2 separate regions of the Homo sapiens genome follow, and region 2 is linked to region 1. The links are contacts of gene promoters, found by promoter capture Hi-C in blood cells and fetal thymus (Javierre and others, 2016). All regions are on one chromosome and are shown on one strand. Each heading gives the region's core, a stretch centred on a gene start or on the middle of the fragment in contact. The rest is flanking DNA. Distances are from core to core; before and after follow the strand shown. Region 1 holds the start of STRN3 (striatin 3). Region 2 overlaps G2E3 (G2/M-phase specific E3 ubiquitin protein ligase).

What was found. The method cuts DNA at HindIII sites, captures the fragments that hold promoters and counts their contacts. A CHiCAGO score of 5 or more calls a contact.
Region 2: a fragment that was not itself captured here is called in contact with the fragment with the promoter of STRN3 in region 1 in 1 of 17 cell types (neutrophils); the score reaches 5.0 in neutrophils.

The regions. Positions count from the first base shown.
Region 1 is chr14:31,023,191-31,030,208 of GRCh38, forward strand. STRN3 (striatin 3) reads right to left here and starts at 3,189. Exons shown (of 18, transcript NM_001083893.2): 1 at 2,714-3,189. The coding sequence starts at 2,995. It overlaps AP4S1 (adaptor related protein complex 4 subunit sigma 1), which reads left to right and starts at 2,459. Exons shown (of 6, transcript NM_001128126.3): 1 at 2,459-2,597. RefSeq lists enhancers at 2,138-2,237, 2,308-2,417, 3,528-3,687 and silencers at 2,407-2,588, 2,728-2,987, 3,078-3,397. The HindIII fragment of the contact is 12,759 bases long and covers 2,524-7,018 here.
Region 2 is chr14:30,605,902-30,612,919 of GRCh38, forward strand. G2E3 (G2/M-phase specific E3 ubiquitin protein ligase) reads left to right here. Exons shown (of 15, transcript NM_017769.5): 12 at 1,987-2,168; 13 at 6,306-6,478. Among named protein-coding and RNA genes, the nearest start is that of SCFD1, 13 kb to the right of the region's middle. The HindIII fragment of the contact is 1,846 bases long and covers 3,355-5,200 here.

The sequences.
Region 1 (7,018 bases), core at 1,939-4,438:
TCCTCTGGAGATCTGGATTGATCTAGGGCTTGAAGAAAATGGACTGTCTGTGGAATTTTGGTAATTCATGTTATATAAAAGTTAAGAAACCACTGTCCTATGACCTTACTAACAATGCTTTACCTGAGTCTAAGGTAAGGAAGAATCAGAGACAGAAGAGCTTTAAGATGTGATCCTTTAGTTTGGTTCCAAGTTTCTAAGACAGACCTTTACTCTAAATTCTTTTTACAGAGAACAGAATCATACTGTAAAGTTCCTTTTAATATCTTTCCCAAAGCCAGGGAAAATATTATTCCCCATTAAAATTTTACATCAATATGGGGTATTCCTTAAGCTCTTCACGTTCTCTATTGAAACTATTCAATAATTAACACTTTAAAAATCTGTGTACATGACAGTGCACTGGAGACTGTACATAATAATATGTAAGTTGTCTTATTTCTAGATTGTCTTTCTTAAAAATAGGTTTAAGTTTACAGTAAAAATCCACTGATGCTTCACTACACCCTCCCACAAATATGTATTCAACACATACATTTTAAAATACGCATCTCACAAGCAATCTCAGTAGACTGAAGGCACCTAAAGCAAACTAGAAACCTTATTAAGTTAACCCAATAAAACATTTTAAATATATAACTCAAAAAAAAAAAAACCAACGCCATCATGAACATTTTATTCCAAAAGAATCAGTATGAAATAAAAAAGAGTCTAGAAACACTGTAGGACTTCTTCAAAACAAGGAAACAAACAAAAACTTAGGATGGCTAATAACAGTACTGTACCAATAGAATTGAAAGCAAGCAAGCAAGCAAAAGGAATCTACCTTAAAACACTGCTGCTGCTGTTAAGGAGACCTAGAAGGGAAAGCAAATGCTAGAGCAGGCAATAAAGGCTTCTTTAATATATAGTATAGGTTTTACTAATTTGGGCACAAGATATCTTTCTTCTCAGCTGCTTACATTAGTGAAGTTTATGGGTGAAAAATGCAATTGCTAACTTGAAGAGTGTTGAAATCCAAACTTGCATACAACAGTACAAAGGTCTAAGAAACCATAGCAGGGACTGGTGAAGTATTATTTAGTGAGCTTAGGCCTTACTGCATTTGTCAATCCAAATTTTAAAAACAAATGCCTTACTTACTTTACTCACACAGAAAATTAAGTTTGCAGTATGTAGTAGAAAGCTGTATACCAACAGAATTCTATAAATTTTAAGTATGTTAAAGCAGACTGTACACAACTTAAACCAGTTTTGACTTCAGCTTTTTTAAAGTTATGTAATTTTAAAGCCCAATATTATATCAAAACACAATTGTAAAGCACTGAAATGACTAACAAGTGTTACTTTTTTTTAAGACTTCATACAGTGTCAAAATACCCAAGTATTTTTTACTTTTGAAAAGTTTAACTTCACCCACTTTGTGGAGTCATATAAAAGTTTACTAGTTCAGAACCAAACTAAAGAGATGCATATTTGAGGACACCCTTTCTAGTTAATCCAATCCTCCTCCTTTCAGCACTACATTTGCCTAACGATTCACCATAGGCATATGACATATATGACAGCAAATACTGCTTACCCCCTAAATACACAACAGTCTGAAGAACAGGTGCAATACTATTTAGACACACGCTTTTTCCTTCTAAGCCTAAATTTGCCCTGGAAAGGTATTTAAAAATAAACACAAATACCCAAGAAAGTTAAATAACCCTTTCAAAAAGATGCAGCAATTTTGAGATCCAGGACATGAGCTGTTAACTACCAACAGCTTCCAAATGTGCAGCCTATCAAAGGTTCACATTATGAGGATCGAGTCAAGCTCAACTATGAAGGGTTCCGAGAACATCTCACTTTGCTTCTCCTGCAAGAGTAAGTAACATGATATAACTACGTTTCACTTCAAGGGAATATTAAATCTCTTCAGTCGTTTCATAAATACAGCATCGATCGTCTGGTTTGGTTTTTTTATAGATAAAGAAACGGATGGGGGAAAGGAGATCTAGTGGAGAGTACTGTAAAAAGAAAAATTCAGTGCTGAAAGCGTTGATGAGTCACTAAGTAAGGAATAACTACAGAGAATCCAAGTGAGTAAGGCAGCATCTCAGGTGAGAAAGTACTTAAAGTTGACGATGGGAAATAAAACTTCACAGGTCAGTCCCAAGTCACTGTGCACCCTAGCAGCCCAGGAAAGAAGCGTGGCTGTCAAGGGGCAAGCGCGTACCAAGTCTGAGGGAGGGGGCCAGATACGCCAAATCGGAAAGGGGGGTGGTCCGGAAAAGGGGGGTAAGATGCCTATCCTAGTCCCTCTCTTCGGGCTCTTCATCTCAAGAGGAACAAACAAGAGCAAACTCAGTGTTGAGAGGCCCCAAACCGGACTCTCCCACAGAGAGGTGCTCGGTCCCAAGCCCCGGAGGCCCGGGAAGGCCGCCTCCGGAGGAGCCCCCGCAGACGCCATACTAAAAGCCAAAATGGCTGCCCCGAGGAGGCCCGCACCGCGTAGCCAGTGAAGGTTGGGGAGCAAGCTTATGCGGGAAAGAGGGAGGGGGACTCCAGGAAAAGCCGTTGAGAGGACCATCACAACCTGAGCAGCACAGGTAGGTTCCGCTCGGCCTCCCAAGGCGCCGGCTCCGGCTGAGTGGAGTCCCCAGCCCCACCCCCCGGCCGGGAACCCAGCCGCCGCAGCTCCCGCACACCGACCCCAACGAGGTACCTGCAGTTCGGCCCGTTCCACCTCCCAGTGCGCCCGCTCCATCTCGAACCGAGCCCACTCGTGCTGGATGTAGTGCAGTATCCCCGGGATAGTGTACTGCTGCGGCCGGGACAGCTCGGGGCCTGCCGCGGGACCCGCTCCCTCGGAGGCCGGAGGACCCCCGCCGCCCGCCGCTCCGTTCCCCCCGGGCGAAAGGCCCAGGTTCCCCCCAGGTCCCTGCTGCTGCCGGGGAGGGGCCGCCATCCCCGGGCCGCCACCACCGCCTCCGGCAAGCTCGTCCATTGTGTGTGGGGCCCCGGCCGGGGCGCAGGGCGAGACGCCGACAGCTGGGGGAAGGGCCGGAGAGGGTGGCCCCGCGCTGGCTGCGGGGCGGAGGCCGGCCGGGAGAGGGGCGGGGAAGGGGTCGTTGCTGTGTGCCTGCCGTGGGTCAGAGCAGGGAGCTGCCGGCTGCCGCCATTACAATCCCTCCTCCATCTGCCCGTCTCACTCACTCACTTTAGGGGAAGGGGGGGCCTCGGCGGGAGGGGTGGGGGGAGAGTTGGGAAGGGGATAGGCGGAGGGCCGTCACTAGCGCACAGCATGCTGGGTAGCGAACGCAGCCTCACGCTTAATCGCCAAATAGAGTCCGGCCTCACCCTACGCCGGCGCACTGAGAACGCAGCCCGGGTCGCCGTTAGAGGGCGGGGAAAGAGCTCGGGCTCCGCCCCTAGGCCCGCCCTCAGACCCGATCCGGTGTCTGGCCGCAGCTACCGGACACCTGGGCTCCGACTCTGACTTTTGGAAGCGAGGCGGCCTTAGGCTTCCTGGTTATCAGTTTCCTTTTAGCAGGCCGTCCCCGGGCGCTGTTTCCTTCCCAGGGGTCTCTCACCCGTGTCCCGGCTTTCTGAGCTGGTTGTTAACCTGGCTGGTCGCTCTGGCCGACCGCATCCCGTCTCGGATTCCTGACGTTTCTTTTTCATTCTTTGAGTGTTTCAGGCAGTCCCAAGGGTGGGCCCTCTTTCCCTTCCTGTCACTCGCTCTGCCTCTGGTTTCTTAGAACCAGTCAGTTCTCTGCTGGCAAATAGCCAAGATCCTCCGGCTGTGGTTACTGATTCCTCGTCTCTGTCTTGAGCCTGGGCTTTGGTCCCATTTCTATGCGCTCGGTCGCCCGTCGTAACTTATTCCACTTTGCGTCCCCTCTTCTTTCCTTTTCTGGAATGGGTTGTGGGGGGGTTGGGAGAGGGGGAGGAGCGATTTTTTTTTTCTTGGGAGAAGAAGAGGTAGTGAATTCCTTTAGATCTTGACGATGATGGGTAGAGGGAGAGAAGTTTGAAGGAGACTGGCTAGACTAACAATTTGATACGGTAGAAATGAATGGGCTCACAAATATTGTCATCAATAGACTATTTTGATCGAAACAGAAAATAAAAGCACTGTGAGTACAACTTAAAATCCTAGATGAATGTTCTCCTGGGTCATTAAATGTTTAAGTGAATATGGCCGGGCGCGGCTGCTCAAGCCTGTAATCCCAGCACTTTGGGAAGCCGAGGTGGGCGATCACTTGAGGCCAGGAGTTCGAGACCAGCTTGGCCAACATTGTGAAACCCCATTTCTACTAAAAATACAAAAATTAGCCGGGCATGGTGGCGCACACCTGTAGTCCCAGCTCCTGGGGAGGCTGAGGCACGAGAATTGCTTGAGCCCAGGAGGCTGAGGTTGCAGAGAGCCGAGATCGCACCACTGCACTCCAGCCTGGGCGACAAAGCGAGACTCCGTGTCGGCAAAAAATTTAAAAAGTTTGAGGAATGTAACATATACATAAGAGACAAGGCTAATATTTTAAGTACAATAGTGGGTACTTTTATGTGCTTAGTTTCCTAGAAAATATCCTAATGCACTAGTGTGTTTCTAAAAATTAATATAGCTAAGAAGCATTTGTTTGAAAAATAAGACAAAAATAATTAACAACATAAGGAAATTAGGTTCAGTAATTATATTAATAGCGATGCAGGAAAATTGCATTGAAAATTTGTTACTTTTTAAAATTTTTTTTCTTTACTGCAAAAGCCAATAAAACTTGTACTATGGAGTATGCACTACCAACCAATCAGGAAGTAATTTCAAAAGAGATTAAGTAATGCATCTTATTTTATCACATCTGCTTTACTGTTATTACAGTTTAATGGAAAGCAGATTGGACCTGTTACTCATGCTGCCATGTTTTATTTCTATATGAAATGAGATCTTAGATTGCAGTACTATAATGTTAAGGACCATTTCTTCAAATTATTATTTTATTTATTTTTTTTTTTTGAGACAGGGTCTCACTCTGTTGCCTGGGCTGGAATGCAGTGGTGTGAGCTCTGCTTGTTGCAACCTGGAGCTCCCTGGCTGAGGTGGTCCTCCCACTTTAGCCTCCTGATAGCTGGGACTCCAGGTGTGCATCCACCAAGCCCAGCTAATTTTTGTATTTTTTGTAGAGACGGGGTTTTGTCATGATGCCCAGGCTAGTCTCCAACTCCTGGCTCAAGTGGTCCACCCACCTTGGCTTCACAAAGTGTTAAGATTACATATTTCTTCAAATTATTAAAGTACTATTTATCTTAGAGTTACCAACATACAACCTGTTTATTCATCCAATTCCTTTTTAGGGGGCGTCATAGCACATAAAAAGCTCAGAAAAATTATGCTGCCTCAAAGACATACACACACATACACACACACACACACACACACAGAGACATTTGTGGCCAGGTGCGGTGGCTCACACCTATAATCCCAGCACTTTGGGAGGCCGAAGCGGGCAGATCACTTGAGCTCAGGAGTTGGAGACCAGCCTGGCCAACATGGCAAAACCCCGTCTCTACCAAAAAGTACAAAAATTAGCTGGGCGTGGTGGCGCTTGCCTGTAATCCCAGCTTCTCTGGAGGCAGAGGGGGCAGTGAGCCGACATCATGCCACTACACTGTAGCCTGGGTGAAAGAGAGAGTGAGATTCCATCCCAAAAACAACAACAACAACAAAAACCATTTGTGAGAATGGTTGACCTGATGATAGCATCAAAAGAAGACTAACATGCACACTTATAACTGGTAACTTGAGCTTAAGGAAAGACTGGATTTCTTATCCTTTTTGTCTCCTCACCTACCCTCAAAACAAAAACAAAATCTCTACTTCTATTATCTACCTTATTAAGTGACACTACATCCAAACTTGAAGCCTAGCAGTCATTCTACTACCTTTCAGTCAGCCCCCACAAACCAATTTCATTCTCAGTAATATCTTTCCTGTGGATTCTATTGTCTCTCTTTATACTTTAGTTTAAACCTTCCCACCTCCATTCTACCCCCACTTTGCACTATCACTGCTGCCTGATTGATCTTCCTAAAACAAAGGTATGATTCTGTCATTCCTCTGTTTAACATAGTTTAGTGATTTCTAAATTTAGTATAAAGCCCAAATTTTAACATAAGCATATAAATTGATCTAGATCCATCCTACAGTCTAATCTACCATAACACTATCATGCCACCTCATTCTTCTCTTCAGCCAAACTGCCACTGTTTTTGGTTCCTCAAATGTATAATGCTATTTCATTCCACAGTAATTTAACACATGCTGTGCCCCATTGCCTATCTTCAAAACTCAGCTCAGATCAGGCACAGTGGCTCATGCCTGTAATCCCAACACTTTCGGAGACAGAGGTGAGAGGATGGCTTAAGCCTAGGAATTCGAGACCAACCTGGGCAACATGGCAAAACCCTGTCCCTACCAAAAATACAAAAATTAGCCAGAGTGGCCACGTGAGTCTGTAGTCCCAGCTACTCTGGAGGCTGAGATGGGAGGATCACCTGAGCCCAGGAGGTCCAGGCTGCAGTGAGCCATAATTGCATCATTATGCCACTGCACTCCAGTCTGGGCAACAGAGCAAAACCCTGTCTTAAGACAAACAAAACCCTTCCCCCACAAAAAAAAAAAAGAAAATACTCAGCTCAAGCATTATTTTGTCCAAGAAGCCTCCATATCCCTGAATTCTTTTGACTCACTATTCTATTGTAGTAGCCTCCCTCCCATGCTTATCTCTTTTTTTCTTTAATCTTTTTTTTTTTCTTTTTTGAGACTGGATCTCACTCTGTCACCCAGGCTGGAGTGCAGTGGCACAATCTTGGCTCACTCCAGCTTCAGCCTCCCCAGCTCAAGCGATCCTCCCACCTCAGCCTCCTAAGTAGCTGGGATGGGACCACAGGCATGTGCCACCATGCCCAGCAAATATTTTTGTATTTTTTGTAGAGATGGGTTTTCGCCATGTTGCACAGGCTGGTCTTG
Region 2 (7,018 bases), core at 3,028-5,527, 420 kb before region 1:
GTGCTCTAAATATACTGTTCACTTTGTTAATAAACTACTGATAGAATCACAGGAAAGTGGGAAGGGGGAGTGATAGTTTAAAAAGTAAATTTTGTGGTGAAACATTTTTTATTTAAGAATATACATTCTTTATAGCAATATTCTCCTTAAAATAATCCATAATTAAGTGTAACTTTATCTTAACTCTAATTTCATTTTAATAGAGTGGCCAAATGGGGATGATTATTTGAATTCTTCCTGTTTGTATATTTGGAATTTGCGGTTAACATAGAGTTTTTATAACATAGTTTCCTGGTCCACATGTAACCAATTTTTCAGTATACTTTTGTTTGCAATATTTTTTTTTTTGCACAATTATGTATATGATGGTTTTCTGTCTTCACTATTGGTGAGAACTTAAGGTAATTATAACAGGCATCTCAAAACAGTGGGTAATTCTGGCATTCTCTTTTAGGGGCTTTTATACTACTTTTGCTGTAATAGGAAATTTGAAAGAAAATGAGAAGGCATTTCATTTCATTTGAATTTCCTACTATATTTTCTGTAAACATCCTAACCATTGCCTAAAGCATCATTTTTACTCTGTATAGTTCACACAGTTTAATTATAAACTCCCTTTAAAATAAAATGTAAAAATAAAGAAAAAACTTTCCAAATAGTAATGTTAACTCAAGGCAGCTTTGGTATGGTGGAGAGTACGTGAATTTAAATCACAGAATCTGAATTCAAGTTTGTACACATCTAGTTCTTTACATCCTTAATTACTTACTCTCTCTGGATCTCAGTTTCTTCATCTGTAAAATGTGACTATGAATATGTAGCTTGTAAGGTTATTACACAGGTATTGTTAATGTCACTTATTAATAAGTTGCTTTCAACAATTTAAAAATTAAGGAAAAATTTACTTGTTTTGGCACATCAAAGTTGCTAATACATTTGAAATGACAATTTTAATTCAAGCTCTGACAGTAAGGTAAGACAGCATATACTGTTGGGAGTAAACTTGTGCCTTTGGGAAAGATTATTTAGTGATATAGATCAAGAACCTTAAAAATGTTCCTATCCTTTGACCTACTAATACCATCTGTAGGAATCCTAATCAAATAAATATAAACAAGAATATGTGAGTATGTTGACTGTAACATTATGTCTCATAAAGTTAGAAATATCACTTAGCCAGGATAGCCAGGGGGATGGTTTGCATTATAGTACATCTCTAAGTTAGTCTAAATGCATTTATTAACTGTAGATTTGAGTAATTTTGAGTAGTATGATAAAAAGTTTACAATATAATAAGTGGATAAAGCATAAGTCAAACTTTTTATATTTATATACACAAAGAGGTACAAGTACAGTCATTTGTCACTTAGTAACAGGGATATGTTCTGAGAAATGTGTCAGTAGGCAATTTCATCATGCAAAGATCATAAAGTATACTTACGCAAACCTAGTTGGTGTAGCCTACTACACACCAAGGCTCTATGGTAAAGCCTATTGGTTCTAGACTGCAAACCTGTATAACATGTTACTGTACTGAATACTGTAGACAATTGTAACACAATGGTAAGTATATGTATATCTAAATATACAAAAGGTAATGCATTGTGCTATGACAGTATAACATCACTAGGTCATAGGAGTTTTTCAGCTTCATTATAATCTTAGGGACCACCTTAGTGTATTTGGTCATTCTTGACCACAACATCCTTATATGGTGCATGACTGTACACCAAAGTGTTCACAGTGGTTATTATGGTGGTAGGTTTATTGTGTTTTATGTTTTCTACAATAGATTTTTACTTTATATTCAGAAAAATGTGTCTTTTTTTATATTTTAGGTAAGATCTATATTTTCTACATAATGATAGCTTCTAAGAATTATATTTATCTAATGCTTAGATTTTTGGACTAATTTTTAATATAAAAAATGATGGTTATCTTATAATAATAGAAGTGTATTTGATATATTTTCATCTGTATTTACAGCTCTGAAAGAGAATCTTTACTATGAAGCTGGCAAAATGCTTGCCATTTCTTTAGTTCACGGTGGTCCTTCACCTGGTTTCTTTTCTAAAACCTTGTTTAACTGCCTTGTTTATGGACCAGAAAATACCCAGCCAATTTTAGATGATGTTTCAGACTTTGATGTGGCACAGATTATAATCAGGGTAAGCAATGTATCTGTTTATTAAAATGCACACTACATTCTAGGTATCTTTTAATGTAAATGACTGATCTGCAATAAAATAATAGTATTATCTATGAAGGAGTTAGGGATTGTAAACATATATTTCTGTTTACCAGTGGAGTTCTGAACCAGTTAAAAGATAGTTTTAAAAGTCAGATGGCTGGAGATTAAAGTGCCACGTTTAATGTTGGTAAAACCAGTTGGATAATGTGATTTTGGTCTGTGTTCACCATGGCTTGTGAATACTCCTCAGAAATACATGGATTTGCCTGCCTTGCTAGAGACAACGTGAGGCAGATTCCCTATTGCAAGCTAGAAAGCAGATGAAAGTGCACTTTGATGGAGGCCGATGGGTCTGAAGAGAGGAAGGATTTGGCTTACCAGTTAGAATACTTTTCCTTCCTTCTATAGGGAGGTATGAATGATAGATGGAGAGAAAGACTAGGCTGAATTTCTTCCAAAGGGAAACAAGTGGTAGGGATCGGGGAGGACTTAATGCGTCCGCCTAAAAATAGTTCATTTATTCAGCACTTATAATGGGACCTGTACTAAACATGTCACATGTGCAAACACTCATTTATCATAATGCCATATAAGTGTCATTGCCAACATGTTACTGCTTTAAAAACTGAGACAATGCAAGCCATTTAACTTTTCTTCCTTAACCTCCCTCCTACTTAAGCATATTCTATCCATTGTCTCAATTAACAGGCAGTGTTGTTTAATGATTAAAAGCATAGGCCTTAGCCAGGCGTGGTGGCATGTGCCTGTAATCCCAGCTACTCTGGAGGCTGAGTCACAAGAATAATTTGAATCCGGCAGATGGAGGTTACAGTGAGCTGAGCTCACACCACTGCACTCCAACCTGGGCAACAGAGGGAGACACTGTCTCAAAAAAAAAGCACAGGCTTGGAAGTCAGATTTTACTTTGAATGCCAACTCTTATAACTACTATATGTTGTGTCACTTTGGGCATATTAATCTTACTAAACCTCAGTTTCTAAATCACACAGTAAGCACTATTGAAGTGTGAGTTGCTACAGTGTATTACAACAATTCTGTTTATTTGCCCTAAGACTGCTTATCCTAACATCATGTTTTAAATTGACCCTTTAATTCTTCGTTTTTCTTTTTGTGCCCTCTTTACTAAAAAAAAAGTATATTTAAGCTTCATTGTCTCTACTTCGTATTTCCTATTTATTTCTTGTAATCAGGCTTCTGTCCCTACCACCAGTCTCAAGTTAGCTAGTTCATAGTTTATATCCAGGGAGCTAAATATCCATGTCCAAAGGCCTTTTCTAATTTTTCATCTGCTGTGACTTCTGCAATTACCACTTAGAATTTCTCTGCAATATTTTATTTAATATTGTACTTCCTCCTACTTCTGATGATTCTCTCTTCTTTAATGCTTCTTACTTCTTCTTACCCCTGAAACTTAGCATTTTTCAGTGTTGTCTTAACAGTCATCATTCTTTATTATTTGGAGAGCTTCTTCTCTCCTGTAATCTTTCTGAATGATTTACAGACCTGTATTTTTGAGCCCCCGGACTTTTATATACAGATAAGACCTGGGTCTTGCTAGCACATTGAGTCTAACATGTTTAAGATAAAAATAGTATTTTTCCCAGAATTTTTTGTTTGATTGTTTTTTGTGGGGCTTTTTTGTGTTTTTACCTGTTTGCCTTTTCTTTCCAAGAGACTTCTTACTTCCAAGCTGTCTTGGAGAGTCATTTTCATACTCCTCCATTTTCCAGTTATATGTCAAGTCACCTGCCTCTAAGACTGACTTATTGTCAACCTTTCCTTCCTGTTTCTAGTGTGCCTATTTTACCAAACTCAAATTTTCCCTAGGCTTAGACAATTAGAATGTTGTTCTAATATTCTTATTTGGGATGATTCTTCCAAAAGTACAGTTTTGACCATATTGCTTTCTTCCTCAGGAATCCCCCAGTGGCTTCTCATTGCCTGTTGAACGAAGTTGAAGCTCTTCATTAGGGCATTTAAGACCTTCACCTCTCTTCATGGCTTTATCTACTCCAGTTTCTGTACTTTTTATCCAGTGTTTGTTCATTTATTTAAGAAATACTATGTATTCTGTACTGTTTTGTTACTAAAGATAGAGTAGTGAAGCAAAGTATCTGCCTTCTTGGAATTTACATTAAGAGAGAACACAGAAGATAAACAACAAATGTAATATGCCATCACGTAGTAAAATGTATTATAATGCTAAATAAAACAGAATATGGCCGGGCGCAGTGGGTCACGCCTGTAATCCCAACACTTTGGGAGAACAGGTGGGTGGATCACCGGGGTCAGCAGTTCGAGACCAGCCTGGCCAACATGGTGAAACCCCATCTTTACTAAAAATACAAAAAAATTAGCCAGGTGTGGTGGCGCGCGCCTATAGTCCCAGCTGCTTGAAAGGCTCGCTTGAGCCCGGGAGGCAGAGGTGGCAGTGAGCCGGGATCATGCCACTGCACTCCAGCATGGGCAACAGAGTGAGACTCCATCCCAAATAAATAAATGTATACATAAATACATACATGCATACATACAACAGAATAAAAGGAGATGGATAAGGGTTGGAGTATATACAAGTTAGGTTTTAGGCTAAACTTCTGTATCTCATAGACCCAGAAAGACAGTGGCTCAAACAAGGCAGATGTTTACTGTTCTGTAAAATCCATTGTCTAGATTTTAGGGTAAGAGTTGGCAAAAAATGGCCTGTAAGTCACGTTCTGGCTTGTTGCCTGTTTGGTAAATAGTTACATTGGAATGCAGCCATGCCCATTTGCTACTGATCTGACTGCTTTCACGCTACAGTGGCAGAGTTGAGTAGCTGCAACAGATACCATATAGTTTGAAAAGCATAAAATGCTATCTGGCCCTTTATACAGATGGCCCTCTGTTTTCGAGATAGAGTTGTGATTTACAAAACCGTCTAAGGACTTGAGTTCCTTCCTCTCATTATCGTGTAACACTTAGCATTATTGTTTGCATCCACATGGTTGAAGCTTGCTCTTAAAGGAGAAAAGTGGAAGTTGAGAGCAGGGAAGTTTGACATGTTGTTTTTACTTACATCCCATTGAACAGTCATGTAGCCCCACCTAGCTGCAGCAAAAGTTTGGCTATGTGCCCAGCTGAAACTCAGGGTTGAGGGTTTGCAGGGATGAGGCAACATATACCCAATTATTACTCCGACAGGGTGTAAAGATAGTATTTTGAGCAGAATAGTCATGAAAAACTTAGGAGATTTCAGCAGAGATTTTGAATGAATGAAAAGAAGTCATGTAAATCTCTAAGAATGTTTTAGGAAAAGGAAATTGCAAGTAAATTTTCTGTTAATGGATTGTTTCCTATTTTTAACTTTCTCCATCTGTACCTTTAAGAGCTAACCTGTATGAAAGTGTCTTGCACATAAATGGCCAAGTATTTCTTTGTTTATGCTGTTCACTAAAATATTCTTGATAAAATTCTGTCCATCTTTTAATTCTCAGCTGTTACTCTTTTTCATGAATTCTCAGGTCATCTTTCTTGCCTATCTAGTACTAGGTAACTTTTCTCTTTTTTTTTCTTTTCTTTTTAAGAGATAAGGTCTCAGTCTGTCACCCAGGCTGGAGTACATTGGTGTGATCATAGCTCACTGAACCTCCAACTCCTGGGCTCAAAATCCTTCTACCTCATCTTCCAGAGTAGCTAGGACTACAGGTGTATACCACCCACACCAGGCCTTTTTTTTTTTTCTTTAGAGGGGGGCTAGCTGTGTTGCCCAGGATGTTCTTGAACTTCTGGCCTCAAGCAGGCCTCCCACCTCAGCCTCCCTAGTAGCTAGTCTTACCTAGTGCTATATAATTTTTCAATGTCAGTTATTTCCTTTTTTATAAATAGTTTCACGTAGTAAAGTGGCATTATACTCTGGATTTCTTGAAGGCAGAAATAGACAAATTTGTTGAACTGGATGATCAGACATTTATTCTAGAAGAATATTTCTTGGTTTACTTTTACTGCACCCATATGTACTAAGAAATTTGAGTATAAATTAACAAGTATCATTTGAAATGTGCATGTCACTCAAAAGTAAATGAGTAAAGTGGCTGTATTTTCTCCTTCATTACAGATAAATACTGCAACAACTGTAGCTGACTTAAAGTCAATAATAAATGAATGCTATAACTACCTTGAGTTAATTGGATGTCTCAGACTTATAACGACATTAAGTGATAAATATATGTTAGTAAAAGACATACTTGGCTACCATGTAATTCAGAGAGTCCACACACCCTTTGAAAGGTAAGTTGTTTCTATTAATATATGGCTCTTTCAAATTACATGTTTAAAGTGGTTAATTATCTTGTAATGTGAGATATATTTGGTAATAAGTGAGATGTTTTTCTCAGAAAAAAATTTAAATGCTATTTTTAAATAATAACTTAAGCCTTTTTAGGATGGTTACTGTTCTGATCATTTAATAAGCATTGTGTAGGTCGGGCATGGTGGCTCACTCACACCTGTAATCCCAGCACTTCGGGAGGCTGGGGCAGGCAGATCATTTGAGGTCAGGAGTTTGAGACCAGCCTGACCAACATGGTGAAACCCCGTCTGTACTAAAATACAAAAATTAGCCGGGCGTGGTGGTGGGTTCCTGTAATCTCAGCTACTTGGGAGGCTGAGGCAGGAGAATTGCTTGAACCCAAGAGGCGGAGGTTGCAGTGAGCTAAGATCATGCCACTGCACTCCAGCCTGGGTGACAGAGCAAGATTCCCTCTCAAAAAAATGAAAAAAGAATTGTGTAAATGTATGATGCTTTCATAGAAATAACCACTGCTTCAG